Linked DNA regions of Homo sapiens: all the other regions are linked to region 2. Evidence: promoter capture Hi-C in 16 types of primary human blood cells and fetal thymus (Javierre and others, 2016). All regions are on one chromosome and are shown on one strand. Each heading gives the region's core, a stretch centred on a gene start or on the middle of the fragment in contact. The rest is flanking DNA. Distances are from core to core; before and after follow the strand shown.

Region 1 (2,700 bases), core at 100-2,599, 260 kb after region 2:
TTGGGAGACTGAGGCGGGCGGATCAGGAGATCAGGAGTTCAAGACCAGCCTGGCCAACACAGTGAAACCCCGTCTCTACGAAAAATACAAAAATCAGCTGCGCATGGTGGTAGGTGCCTATAATCCCAGCTACTCGGGAGGCTGAGACAGGAGAATCACTTGAACCTGGGAGGCAGAGGTTGCAGTGAGCTGAGATCATGCCACTGCACTCCAGCCTGGACGACAGAGCTAGACTCCATCTCAAAAAAAAAAAAAAAAAGACATTTGTCAGTATTTGCTGATGGAAATTTGGGAAAAATAAAATGTACAAAAATTCAAGTTGATAAGAAAAATAGGAAGGCCCTAAGAAATAAATGGGCAAAGGATTCAAAGCACCAATTCTTAGGAATGAAAATGCTCAGGGTGTATTTATCAAGTGGATGAATGCCCAATCTCCAGAGTCATCAATGAAATGTGTATTCAAGTAATGAGATGCATTTTTCTCTGAAAAATCAGCAAAAACAAACAACACACACACACAGACACACACACACCTTTTAAGAAAAAACTACAAAATTAGCTGGGTGTGGTGGGGTGAGACTGTAGTCCCAGCTACTCAGATAATAGGCCAGGCACAGTGGCTAACACTTGTGATCCCAGTACTTTGGGAAGATCTCTTGAAGCCAAGAGTTCGAGACCAGTCCAGGCAACATAGTGGGACCTCGTCTCTACAAAAAATTAAAAAACTAGCCAGGCGTGGTGGCATGCTCCTGTAGTCCCAGCTACTTGGGAGGCTGAGGAGGGAGGATCACTTGAGCCCAGAAGGTGGAGGCTGCAGTGAGCTATGATTGTGACACTGCACTCCAGTCTGAGTGACAGAGGGAGACCCTGTCACAAAAAGAAAGAAAATAATAAAGTCAGTTAGAAGTTGGTGAAATGGAGACATTAATACATTGATGGCAGGAATATAAACGAATTCAGCTTTTCTGGAAAACCACTTGACCATACACTTCAGAATCCTGAAATATTTTCCCACTTTGCCCAGTGATAATCCTAACAAAAAATATTTTAAGCTTAAAGTTGTTTGTGTGTTGTTAACAGGAAGATTGGAGACAATTTTAAAGTAAGCTATGGTGCTTAATGTAGTTGATGGAAGGGTTTATAACAACAGTTTGGGAAAGACAGGACCACATAATGCATGCTTTATGCTTCTGGAACATAAAACAAAAACTACTCAGTAAAAGAAAAACTGGATAAGAAAAGAAATTTGGGGCTGGGCCCAGTGGCTCATGCTTGTAATCCCAACACTTTGGGAGGCTGAGGTAGGTGGATTGCTTGAGCCCAGGTGTTGGAAAACAGCCTGGGCAACAAAATGAGACCCCGTCTCTGCAGAAAATCAAAAAATTAGCCAGGTGTGGTGGCACGCACCAGTGGTCCCAGCTACACCAGAGGCTGAGGCAGGAGGATTGCCTGAGCCAGGGAGATCGAGGCTAAAGTGAGCCATGTTTATGCCACTGAACTCCGGCTTTGGCAACAGAGAGGAGATCTTTTCTCAAAAAAAAAAAAAAAAATCTGTTTTAAATAAATTTGCCCCAACTTTTCCCAGTTTCTGAGGAGTGGGAAAAGCCATATTTTGAAATACCAGAGGTAACAAATCACCTCCCAAGAGAAGCTTTTATTTAACTATCACTTACAGGTACTTTCTACTTACCAGGCTGGCTCTAAGGGTTTGTAAATATTATGATAGCTCAGGGCTGTCCAGTGGAAAAATAATACAAGCCACACGGATAACTTTCAATCCTCCAGAGCTGTGTAAAAACTCATTCTAAGCGCCGCACGTGGTGGCTCATGCCTGTAATCCCAACACTCTGGGGGGCCGAGGCAGGCGGATCACAAGGTCAGGGGATCGATCTTGGCCAATATGGTGAAAAATTAGCCGGGCGTGGTAGCACACGCCTGTAGTCCCAGCTACTCTGGAGGCTGAGGCAAGCGAATCACTTGAACCCAGGAGGCAGAGGTTGCAGTGAACCAAGATCGTGCCACTGCACTCCAGCCTGGGTGACAAGAGCAAAACTCCGTCTCAAAAAAAAAAAAATTTATTCTAAGCAGACAGCGGTGGCTTGCACTTGTAATCTCAGTTGCTTGGGAGGCTAAGGTGGGAGGATCACTTGAGGCCAGGAGTTTAAGACCAGCCTAGGCAACAAAGCAAGACCTTGTCTCTAAAAAAACATTTAAAAAAAATTAGCCAGAAAAAATATTCCGGGCATGGTGACATGAACCTGTGGTCCTAGCTACCTGGGAGGCTAAGGCAAGAGGATTGCTTGAGCCCAAGAGTTTAAGTTCGCAGTGAGCTATGATCAGACCGAGAGGTGAAGCCAGCTGAATTTCTGGGTCAGGTAGGGACTTGGAGAACTGTTCTGTCCTATAAGAGGATTGTAAAATGCACCAATCAGCACTCTGTGGCTTGCTAGAGGTTTGTAAAATATGCCAATCAGTGCTCTGTAAAAACGCACCAATCAGCGCTCTGTGGCTAGCTAGAGGTTTGTAAAATGGACCAATCAACGCTCTGTAAAATGGACCAATTGGCACTCAGTAAAATGGACCAATCAGCAGGATGTGGGCGGGGACAAACAAGGGAATAAAAGATGGCCACCCCCTCCCACCCTATCCACACCACCCGCCAGCCAGCAGCGGGAACTTGCTTGGGTCTCCTTCCACAGT
Region 2 (2,700 bases), core at 161-2,660:
CCGTGGTGGCCCAGGTTCCTCAGCAGCGCTTCCCACTCACTGGCCCATTGCAGCCCAAATCTCCGAAGCCAGGCACCCATGGGGGCCACGGGGCATGGGGGAGTGGGGAGGAGTCCTCGGTTGACCCTCATCTCCCTCCCAAACCTGCCACTTGATTCTGGCTCCCTGGGCCAATTGCCCCCAATTCTGCCCCCGCCCCCATCATCCTCTATCTCTTCCTTCCCTAGTGTCCCCTATCTCACTCAAGCTCACCCCATTTCTGCCTGGCTGTCCCCACTCTCCATCCCCAAATCATCATTCAAAACTCTCTGTTCCCCCAGCTCCGGACAGCCCCTGACTCCATGCCTTCTCCCGACTCATCCGCTGTCCCTTGTCCCAGGGGTTCCCCTCCCTCCTAACACACACACACCGGCTCAGGGAGGGAGAGGAAATGGTGCACCAGGAGAGAGAAAAGGCAAAAGGTCATAGGCAGTCGGGTGGGCGGGGAGGAAGGAAAGTGAAAGGTGACAGGAGAGCTGGGAGCTGTCCCGACATGTCCTGGTTTGCCCCTCCCCCAGGGGGGCCTGTTCTCCCGACTCCCCCCAGGCCCCCTTAGACGCTTTTCCAGGGCTCTGCAGAAGGGCACCTGAAGATGGTGGGGGCCGGGGTCAGCGGGCGAGTGAGGCTGGAGACCTCCCCCGGATCCCCCATGCTGGAACAGCGGGGACAGGGGCCTCCTCAAGTTCACTTCTCCTGGGTCCCCTGTTCGTCCCAGCATCCCAAGGCAGTGCTGAGGCCCCGGGGTGGCTGCGGGAGGGGGGCCACACCCCTATATCTCACCTAGCGCAGACCACACGCTTCCAGACACCAGCAGATGGAGGCGGCACCTGCTCCCGTCCCAGGCCGGAGTTTGCAAGCTGCTCGCCGCCCGCGCCCCTCCCTGGGAGCAGCCCGGGACCGCGGTTGGAAAGGAGAAAGCGGAAAGAAAGAAAGAAAAGAAAAAGAGAGAGGGAGAGTGAATCTGGGAGAAAGCGCAGAGGGAAGAGCAGCCAGCGAGTGTCCGGAGCGAGGAGGAGGAGGAGGAGAAGGAGAGGGGGAAGAAGAGGAGGAGGAGGAAGGCTCGGCGCCCCCTCCCTCGCCGCCAACCTGCCGCGGGGCGTGCGGTGCTTGGGACCATGTGCCCGCGCTCGCTCCGGGCCGCCACCCAGCGCCTCCGGTGGCTGCGCGGGCGCCCCAAGTGTTCGTGTGTCTGCGGCGGGTGGGCGTCCGGCTCGCGCTGCCAAGCGCCCCAAGTTGCCGCCGCGCCCCGCAGCGGGGACGCGAAGCCGGCGCGGGGCGGGTGTATTTACCTGCCGCCAAGACCTTCATTATGGGCTGCACTTCAGAGGGCCTTGGAGGAAACCTCAGATGCCGGCAGTTTTCAGAGGTTCATGCTCAAATGGGGAATTTGCCTGATTTATATACTGGAGCCTGTGTTGTAAGACAGAAACAGCTATATTTAGCCGGGATCCCCAGTCCAGGAAGTTGTTTGAGGTGCATCATAGGAAATTATGAATGGAAGAAAGTGAGAGTGAAGGGGGGGGACGAGTGAGGGGGGAGGGTGGGGAGAACAGACTTTTTCCCTCTTCTAAGAATTTGATTGATAAAATTATAATGAAGCCTTCGACAAAACGCCCTGTGGTTTTCCTGCCTGGCTTGTCCCGGGAGTTGTCTGAAGATGGGCATCGCCAGGAGGGGGCCCCTGGCCGAGTCAGCAGGGGTCCCAGCAGTGGGCGCCCCAGACGGCCCTGACTCACCTGGGTTTGGGGAGGTAGCGAGTCTGGACTAGCAGATGGAGACTGGCCCCTGTGCCCCCTGGTTGGGGGGCTTTAGGGGGGCAGTGGGAGGAGGAGGGCTAGGGCTTGGCTGAGAAGGAGGCTCCAGGAGGAGGGGCCGGGGCCGGCGTGGACTTTAGACGGTCATAAAGTGGAACTGAACATGGGCGCTGGAAGCCACCCCAGAGGTAGCCTCCTCCAATCTGCACATTGCCACTGGGCCCCAAGGGGCTCCGAGGGGAACACGTTGCCCAGGGCCCCAGAGGGTCAGGCCTCCAGACACCACCAGTGCACTCGCCCTGCTGACCACTGTACCTGTGAGGCTGGGGAAGGGGCTAGGAAGACATGGGGGTAGGGGTGACTGACTCAGTTCTGTCGGGACACTCTGGGAAGGTGCTTCTGGGAAGGCGGTCCAGCATTTCCATTCTGAAGCAGGACTGAGAGAGGCTTGGCGAAATCGTACCCCAGTTTCCTCCTCCGGGTGCTGATTGATGGTTGGGGAAACTGAGAAGTGGCTGGTCCCTTCCAGACCTGCCTTGGAAGCCCCTTTGAGCCCAGCCTCAGAGAATGATGGAGGTCCCCAAAAAGTGCTTCTAGAGGCTCTAAGGCAGTGTCACATGTTCTGGCGTCTTCTGAGGCCAGGCGATTTGTGAATGAGGAAGGGCAGAAAGGAGCAGTGGGGAGCCGGGCAAAATGAGCACAGGGACACCTCCAAGAAATGCAACAGAAAAGTGAAAATAAATACACCCTATGAGATGCGGGAATGCCGGCCAGACAGCATGGCCACGCGTCTGGGGCCATGCCGTCCCTAAAGCTGCCAGGGGACCCCCAGTACCAGGAGATGATTTAGTCCCCTGTGGCCCCTTCCCAGCCCTTCCGCCTGACCCTGACCTGAGATCAAGGTGTG
Region 3 (2,700 bases), core at 197-2,696, 480 kb before region 2:
CACCCTAACCTAAATTACCACCCATCAGGCCGGGCATGGTGGCTCACGCCTGTAATCCCAGCACTTTGGGAGGCCAAGATGGGAGGATCACCTGAAGTCAGGAGTTTGAGACTAGCCTGGCCAACATGGTGAAACCCTGTCTCTACTAAAAAAAAAAATTAGCCAGGCATGGTGGCAGGCGCCTGTAATCCCAGCCACTCGGGAGGCTGAAGCAGGAGAATCACTTGAACCCGGGAGGCGGAGGTTGCAGTAAGCCGAGATAGCACCACTACACTCCAGTCTGGACGACAGACCGAGACTCCATCTCAAATAAATAACCACCCATCTTCCCTCAAATGATCTACTACAATAACTTCCCCCTTGCGGTCCACTCTCCATAGACCAGCCAGGATGATGACATTAAAGTGCACATTAAATCTTGTCGCATTTCTCCTGAAAACCCTTCAATGGCCTCCTAGTGCAACTAGAAAAAGACAAGACTCCTTGGCCAGACGCGGTGGCTCACGCACCTTGGGGGGCGAGGCAGGAAGATTGCTTGAGCCCAGGAGTTGGAGACCAGCCTGGGCAACACAGTGAGACCCTGTCTCTAAAAACAAAAACCAAAGAAAACAAGACTCCGTAAGGTGGGTTCCAAGGCCAGACATGAGCTGACCGGAGTCAACCTCTTCACAGTCCACTCTACTTCTTTCCCTCAAACATCCCAGGACTGTAGCTGCCTCAAGGCCTTTGCACCAACGTTTTCCTGTTCAACTCTACTATTCATTCAGGTCTCTAGTCAAGTGTCACCCCCCAGAGCAGCTACCCAGGGTGCAATGTCACCACCACTGCCTCTCCAGTCAACCAAAGCACTATCTGTTTGCTGTACTGCATCTCCCCACCCGCCCACTCCGTAGATTGAGCGCTCTGTGAGAGCAAGGACTTTGTTCACTGCTGGGTCCCCAGAGCAGGGACCAGAACAGGCGCTGGGAAAACATCTGTTGAATGCCCCAGGTACTCCAAAGCCCTTGCTCTTTTCAATCCCAAGCAGGTTCCAAGTCTCCAGCCTTCCAAACCAGGGTTGCCCGGTGCGAAGCCCAGGGGTGAGAGGAACAGGAAGCAGGGCAGATCCGTCCCTGCCCTTAATCCAGGGTGAAGGGTTTAACCTCCAGGACAAGACTTTTGCCGCAGGCTCCAGCTCCTGGCCTAGACTTGGGGCTGGTGCAGGGGACAAGGCGAAGAGTTGAGCCAGGGTCTCGGGAACCCAGCTGCCCTCGCCCCTCTATCCACACCCTATCCCAAGAAATGGTGCGTCCCGCCGCAGGGCGTACGCACAGAGAAGGAAGTGTTCAAGTCTTCCAGTGCGGAGAAAAGAGACTAGGACTCGCCCCTCGACGTCTCGCGGAAGGTACCTGGCTCCCCGGTGGCTGCAGCTCCGGGCTCCTCCTCCTGCGTCCTCGCGTCGCGTACTGCTTGCTGGGATTCGTAGTCTCGCCTTGGCCATCAGTTCGCCCTTCCCAGAGAGCTTTGGGAATCTAAGCCGGGACTGGGCGGAGGGCGGGGAGAAGGTGATGGCGCGCGAGGGCTTCTGGGAGTTGTAGTTTGACATATTCTAACAGCCAGGAATTCTGGAGAAGAAAAATTGGGTAATAAATCTTATCAGATTATCTGGGCTGTCCTGATATGAACCTTTTGAGTTTTTTTCCTCATTCCCAGGATAGGAATACCTCTGTGGTTCAAAACACGAAGGCTGAGATTCAGAGGAACTACAAATCCCATAAAGTGTTGCACGTCTAGGGCCTTTGGGGAACGAGGTCGGCCCCAGCGCAGGCGCGGTGGCGCGAGTTGGACTGTGAAGAAACATGGCGGCCGCGACGTTGACTTCGAAATTGTACTCCCTGCTGTTCCGCAGGACCTCCACCTTCGCCCTCACCATCATCGTGGGCGTCATGTTCTTCGAGCGCGCCTTCGATCAAGGCGCGGACGCTATCTACGACCACATCAACGAGGGGGTGAGGGCCTGTGCCATCCCTGACCTTGGACCCGCCTGAGGGGTGACAGTGGAGTAGAGGTGGGATGGGACTCAGTATACTTTTACCAGGAAGGGGGTAAGGGGTAAACCGTCGGCGTCTTCTGTCTCGAGTCCGCCGTCTGTCCCCTTGGCTTGATGTGAATTCTAAAACGTTAAGCGAGGTTAATATATTTCATTTTGCAGGGGTTGTAAGTATTGCTGTGTGCCACCCTACATACCCACTTGCCCATTATCAGAAGCAAAAACTAAAGGCTAGTGAGAGCAAAGGACTTACTAGCTGCACAGGAAGCCAGGGGCAAGTCAGGGCCAGAAACGGGACCCCTGTCTCTCAGAGTTTCAAGGGCAGATTTGAGCAGGCGACGGTCGTGAAAAGGACGTTAGACACCTTAGACGCCGTGGCTGAAGTTTCAGACGGCGCTTCTGGTCCCCAAGGCTTCCCACGTAGACAGTTGGTATTAATGGTTGAGAGTGGGGGCTATGAAATCAGAAAGCCTTGGATAGGAACACTGGTCCTTGTCACTTAACTGTGGCATTAAGTTGAGCAAGTTTCTTCTCTGAACTCCGTTTTAACTGTGAGATGGAGATATTAATAGTAACCTGAGCACGATTGTGAGGATTACATGAGATGCAGGCAGGGTGCCACATGCCTGGTAGGTGGTACCACTGAAAAATAATCATTGCTTACATTCCTC
Region 4 (2,700 bases), core at 1-2,500, 410 kb before region 2:
AGCTATGTAGATAAGGCTCATGAAGCTGTGGCAGCATTTAAAAGAGAGACCTGGCTTGAGGAAGAAGTGATGTCAAGGAAGACCTGAGTTTTTGTCTAAAGCACGGGTACAAATTAAGTAGGCAGGGCTGGGCGCGATGGCTCACGCCTGTAATCCCAGCGCTTTGGGAGGCCAAGGCGGGCGGATCACGAGGCCAGGAGATCGAGACCATCCTGGCTAGCAAGGTGAAACCCCGTCTCTACCGAAAAAAAAAAAAAAAATTAGCAGGGCGTGGTGGTGCATGCCTGTAATCCTAGCTACTCAGGAGGCTGAGGCAGGAGAATCGCTTGAACCCGGGAGGCGGAGGTTGCAGTGGGACGAGATCACGCCACTGCACTCCAGCCTGGGCGACAGAGCAAGACCCCGTCTTGGGGGGAAAAAATAAATTAACTGGACAATCTGAACTTTGAGCTCCAAAAGGACAAACAATAATCATGACTATGTCTGTGCCCACCACTGTATTCCCCTGCCAGGCAGGACAGCAAAAGCCAAAAGCTAAGAAAGGGAGGGGGAGCTCCCTACAAGCACCCAATTGCAATATGGCCTGGGAGCATCCCCGGGGCTACTGCTCCCTCAGCCTCTTTGTCATCATTCCTCTAGTCTCTCAATTAAATACTACTCTCCTCAGAGACCTTCTGATGGCTCTGCCTATAGTATCCACTCTCCCAGTTACTGTCATAGCTTTAATGACCTTGTGCATTTGCTTGTCGTTGACCATCTCCTCCCACTAGACTGTAAGCTCCATGAGGGCAGAAGCCTTGTCTGTCTTGCTTTCTTTGTATCCCCAATGTCTAGATCTGTGTCTGGCACATAGGAAGCACTCCACAAATATTTGCTGAACGAATGAATGAACCCTGAGGAAACTGAAGCCCCGGGTGTGAGGACGTGGGGGGATCGTGGCTGGTCCAACGCCACTCTGGGGCCGAACTTCGAACCCGTGGCTCCTGACCCTGGCGGCCAAGTCTCGAGAGGCGGCTCACAACCCCTCAGGTAGCGTAAGCGTGGGCCCCGCAATGGAGGCCAGAGGATGGGAGAGCCAAGGCTGCCCAAGGCATAGCCGCGGCTCCTCCGGGGTCCCTTGCCCTGCATCTGGCAGGGACCAGCCACGCACTCACCTCGGCGGCTCCACCACCGGCTCTGTGCCGCCGCCGCCGCCGCCGCCGCCGACCACGGTGACAGCTCCCTGAGCGCCCGCACTTCCGGGGTCAAACTGCGATTCCGCAGGAGCAGACAGGAAGTCTCGGCCTGGCCCCGCCCCCAGAGCCGAGCAAACTACCGCCGGGAAGCCGGACCCGGGTTGCGCCTCTCTTCTTAAGACTCCGCCCCACACTCGGCGTCTGTAGCCACGCCCCCTTCCCCTCCTATCTCCCTTCCTGCTTAAGCAGAGAATAGGTCAGCTGAGGGCGGGCTGTGTGATTACACCTCTCGGGAAATCCAAGTATGGCACCTGAGAGGACGTCTCGGAATCCCAGGCTTCCACCTTCTGCCCGACCTCCTTAGTCACCGTTTTACATATTTAATCCAGAAGAGAAATTTTAACAAGTCAAAAGCACGAACATAATGTTAAGCAGATGTACAAGTACAGACTGCGATTTCATTTACGGGAAATTCTAGAACAGACAGAACTCATGAGTAGTGATGGTGTTAAAATTGGTGGTTTCCTCTGGGGCTGTGGGCTGGGAGGGGCCACAAGTGAGGCTGGGGTCACCCCCTGTCTTCATCTCGGTGGTAGCCATGTAGATGTGTTCACTTTGGAAAATTCATCAAATTGTACGCTTAAGATTTGTGCATTTTTCTGTATGTATGCAATACAGTTTTGTTCTGTTTTGTTTAAGGAAGTTACAAGTATAGCTATCCTAAGAGAAGGATGCAATTTTTTCTACAGAATGTCTCAGGTAATGTAGGTTTAGTGGTTCCTAAGCCTGACTATGGATCAGAATCATCACAGAAAACTTGTTAAGAACACACATTCCTGGCTTCATCTCAGTGCCTGGTACACAGTAAGAATTCAAAACCAACCACCATCATTATTGGGGTGTTATAGAAGCCCCCGAATGGAGAACACAACCCCACCCTGGGATTGTGAAATATTTCCCAGGACACTCCTGCCAACCCCTGCTATCTGCACTAGGGCTACAAGGAATGCTTAGTTCAGTGCCTGTCTTCAAGGGGCTTACAGGATAGGAAGTGCAAGAAAACCAATAGCAATGAGTCAGTGTGATGAATGCAGGGTGCTAAGGAAATAGGAGAGATGGGCTGTAAACCAGAAATGAGATGAGAGGGGCTGGATATTATATTAGTTTTGTATTGCTGCATAACATATTACCACAAACTTATAACAACACACTGCTTGCCACTTATAACAAACACATTTATTTATTTATTTATTTTGAGACAGAGTCTCACTCTGTCACCAGGCTGGAGTGCAGTGGTGTGATCTTGGCTCACTGTAACCTCTGCCTCCCGGAGGTTACAGTGGGTTCAAGCGATTCTCCTGCCTCAGCCTCCCAAGTAGGCAGGACTACAGGCATGAGCCACCAGGCCCAGCTAATTTTTGTATTTTTAGTAGAGACGGAGTTTCACCATGTTGGCCAGGATGGTCTCGATCTCTTGACGTCGTGATCCGCCTGCCTCAGCCTTCCAAAGTGCTGGGGTTACAGG
Region 5 (2,700 bases), core at 14-2,513, 450 kb before region 2:
ACTGAGGAAGAATGAGAGGCATCACCATCCTTTCTGCTACACCTTCGGCTTCTGGTCCATCCCATCCCTGGTTCTGTGCAGTGGGGCAGTTCTTTCATGCTGTGTGGCCTCTGGTTATGTGGCTCCCTGGCAGGGCCAGGCAGAGAAGCATGGCAAGCTCCACCCACCCTAGCTATGCCCTGGAAGAAGACACAGGTAGGGACAGTGAAGCCCGGGCACCTGGGCAGCTTGTCCAGGGAGATGCAACCTTGGCCCCAGACCTCATTTGGAGCCAGAAAGGAAAAAGAAAAATCAGGACCAAAGCCAGCTGGGAAAAGATGCATCAGAGGCCAGAACTTCAGTCAAGCCTGGAAACACAGGCAATGGTGGCTGCAGAGACCCTCTGGAGCAGGTAGCTTCCTCAGCCTCCAAGATGGGAGCAAGCCCTGGGAATATGCAGGTGCCCCTGAAACCTCGCCACCTTTCCCTTCCTCATCTCCTCAAGCCTGTCCTTCAAGGCCCAATTCAAACTGGTCCTTAGCAGGGTGACTCCTGCCTTTGAACTTCTAAAGAGCCTGTGGAAGCAACAGACTCCTACTTTTCCAGGTGAAGAATCAGGGGATCCAGAGAGGCAGAGCAACCCTCTTAAGGTCACACAGCTACTAAGAGCAAAGCCAGGGCCAGACACAGGTCTCCTGATTCAGGTCTGCTTTGCCACTTCCTGGGCTGTGTGACCACAGGCAAGTCCCTTAACCTCGCTAAGTCTCAGTTCCTTCTCTTGGCACCCACTTCCCAGGGCTGATGTGAGAAAGAAATGACATGTCGAAGCAGATCCAGCACTTTCTGGGCTCAACAAAGTGAATCCTGTTTCTTTTACTACAGGACTTTTCAGAGCCTTAATGTGCTCTGCGACTCCCCAAAAGGCAGACCAAGGGCACAGACACTTAAAATAAAATTTTAATTATTATTATTTTTTGAGACAGGGTTTCACTCTTGTTGCCCAGGATGGCGTGCAATGGTGTGATCCTGGCTCACTGCAACCTCCACCTCCCAGGTTCAAATGATTCTCCTGCCTCAGCCTCCCGAGTAACTGAGATTACAGATGCCTGCCACCATGCCCAGCTAGTTTTTTGTATTTTTAGTAGAGATGGGGTTTCACCATGTTGGCCAGGTTGGTTTTGAACTCCTGACCTCAGGTGATCCACCCACCTTGGCCTCCCAAAGTGCAGGGATTACAGCCACCACGCCCAGCCGGCACAGATATTTTTAGAACACATGTTGTCTTCCAGGGCACCATGGAATGGTCCAAAGGGATTAGGGGACCCTGCCTCTTGCCCACTGACTCCTTCACTGGCTATGATATACCTGTAGCACATGTATTGATGTCTCCACAACAGCCATGCTGCACCTCACCCATTCTCCAAACAGACCCTACATTTTCTTTAGGTCTTTCTACCTTTCCGTTTCACCCTGGAGCTCCAGGCCTGCACCCTGTGAGTTGGTTTTCCTGATGAGATATGAGGGGTATTGGAGACTTCTGGGAAAGGTATCCTAGGCTCTAGGAGAGACACAGGAAGACCTGGTCTGGACTATCTCCTGGCACTGTCATGTCTGGAAGCCATAGTAGAAACAGCTGCAGCCCCTCTGCAGCCTCAAAGGAAGTAGCCTGACCACGAAGTGAGGCCCCAAGAGACTGGAAAGATACATTCTGGATGATAGGTCAACCAAGCCTAGACGGCCCTACCTTACACCGCCTTGTCATGCAAGGGAACAGATTTCCTTACTACTTAAGCACTGAGTACAGCCTATCTGATTCAACAACGAACACATTTTAACTCCACTACCATCTGCAGCGTCCTACCTAATTTCTCATGGGATTAGGACATGTGTCCCTGCCGAAGTTCCTGTGTACCCCACCCCAGCACCTCCCACTCTGTCCTTACTTGTTTAATGGTCTTTCTTATGATCATTTGAGGGCAAGGCCGGGTATCCAGCTCACCCTGTTTCCCTGGTGTCTAGCATAGGATCTGGTGCTACTAAATCTCTTAATAAATATTTGCTGAATGAATAAATAATGAACACATGAATGGAGGCTTTGCCTCTTTGCAATCTGCAGCCCCTGGGCTACCCAGCACAGTGAGTCTCTCTGCGTGCCAGCCCAGAGGGCCCCAGGAACAAGGGCACAGTGTTCCAGAAACCTGGCCACCTCAATGCCAGCCACTCTGCTGACCCTGACAGCTGGGACCAGCCCCTTGGCAAATGCTCGTAGGTGACTTATGACCTAGGTGGGGTGAGATGAGACTTTACAATACCATGGGCCCTGGACAAAACCACAGATCAAGGTGAAAGGCCATATCCAGAGATGGCTAATCTCTGTGGGGAACTTACCAATCAGGCTTCCTGGATTGGAGCAGGGGGCCAGGCTTCTCGCCAGCCTGGAGGACCCCTTGTCTGCCCCTTGCCCACCGCTGGAGCTACAGAGGGCCATGCTGGCCTGGAATAGCGGCCACTGATCCAGGATAACATCTTTGGCCTGGGATCTGGGGGTGTTGCAATGTGTATGACTAAGCAGTTTGCAAGTGCTTCCTGTCCAGCCAGCCAGACGGCTTTGTAGTTGCCCTGCGCCAGTTCCCCAAGCCCTCAGCCAGCCAAGCTTTTAGCAGTGGACAGCCCTAGGGAGGGGTAACAGCACAGGGCCCTAACTGAAGAAGCAGCTGGCAT

What was found. The method cuts DNA at HindIII sites, captures the fragments that hold promoters and counts their contacts. A CHiCAGO score of 5 or more calls a contact.
Region 1: a fragment that was not itself captured here is called in contact with the fragment with the promoter of LIF in region 2 in 1 of 17 cell types (total CD8 T cells); the score reaches 5.9 in total CD8 T cells.
Region 3: the fragment with the promoter of ZMAT5 here is called in contact with the fragment with the promoter of LIF in region 2 in 6 of 17 cell types (neutrophils, monocytes, erythroblasts and 3 more); the score reaches 11.1 in neutrophils.
Region 4: the fragment with the promoter of ASCC2 here is called in contact with the fragment with the promoter of LIF in region 2 in 1 of 17 cell types (neutrophils); the score reaches 6.0 in neutrophils.
Region 5: a fragment that was not itself captured here is called in contact with the fragment with the promoter of LIF in region 2 in 1 of 17 cell types (M1 macrophages); the score reaches 5.1 in M1 macrophages.

The regions. Positions count from the first base shown.
Region 1 is chr22:30,509,582-30,512,281 of GRCh38, forward strand. No RefSeq gene overlaps it. Among named protein-coding and RNA genes, the nearest start is that of SEC14L4, 5.2 kb to the left of the region's middle. The HindIII fragment of the contact is 599 bases long and covers 1,051-1,649 here.
Region 2 is chr22:30,245,349-30,248,048 of GRCh38, forward strand. LIF (LIF interleukin 6 family cytokine) reads right to left here and starts at 1,411. Exons shown (of 3, transcript NM_002309.5): 1 at 1,329-1,411. The coding sequence starts at 1,347. It overlaps LIF-AS2 (LIF antisense RNA 2), which reads left to right and starts at 862. Exons shown (of 1, transcript NR_148946.1): 1 at 862-1,645. The HindIII fragment of the contact is 10,846 bases long and covers 1-2,700 here.
Region 3 is chr22:29,765,561-29,768,260 of GRCh38, forward strand. It overlaps ZMAT5 (zinc finger matrin-type 5), which reads right to left and starts at 1,447. Exons shown (of 6, transcript NM_001003692.2): 1 at 1,312-1,447. It overlaps UQCR10 (ubiquinol-cytochrome c reductase, complex III subunit X), which reads left to right and starts at 1,809. Exons shown (of 2, transcript NM_013387.4): 1 at 1,809-1,988. The coding sequence starts at 1,839. RefSeq lists enhancers at 682-1,331, 1,301-1,530, 1,332-1,981, 1,891-1,940. The HindIII fragment of the contact is 8,045 bases long and covers 1-2,700 here.
Region 4 is chr22:29,837,024-29,839,723 of GRCh38, forward strand. It overlaps ASCC2 (activating signal cointegrator 1 complex subunit 2), which reads right to left and starts at 1,251. Exons shown (of 20, transcript NM_032204.5): 1 at 1,155-1,251. RefSeq lists an enhancer at 1,524-1,583. The HindIII fragment of the contact is 11,938 bases long and covers 1-2,700 here.
Region 5 is chr22:29,796,828-29,799,527 of GRCh38, forward strand. All of the region lies in intron 15 of ASCC2 (activating signal cointegrator 1 complex subunit 2), which reads right to left. Among named protein-coding and RNA genes, the nearest start is that of UQCR10, 31 kb to the left of the region's middle. RefSeq lists enhancers at 1,862-2,362, 2,363-2,700. The HindIII fragment of the contact is 2,733 bases long and covers 1-2,630 here.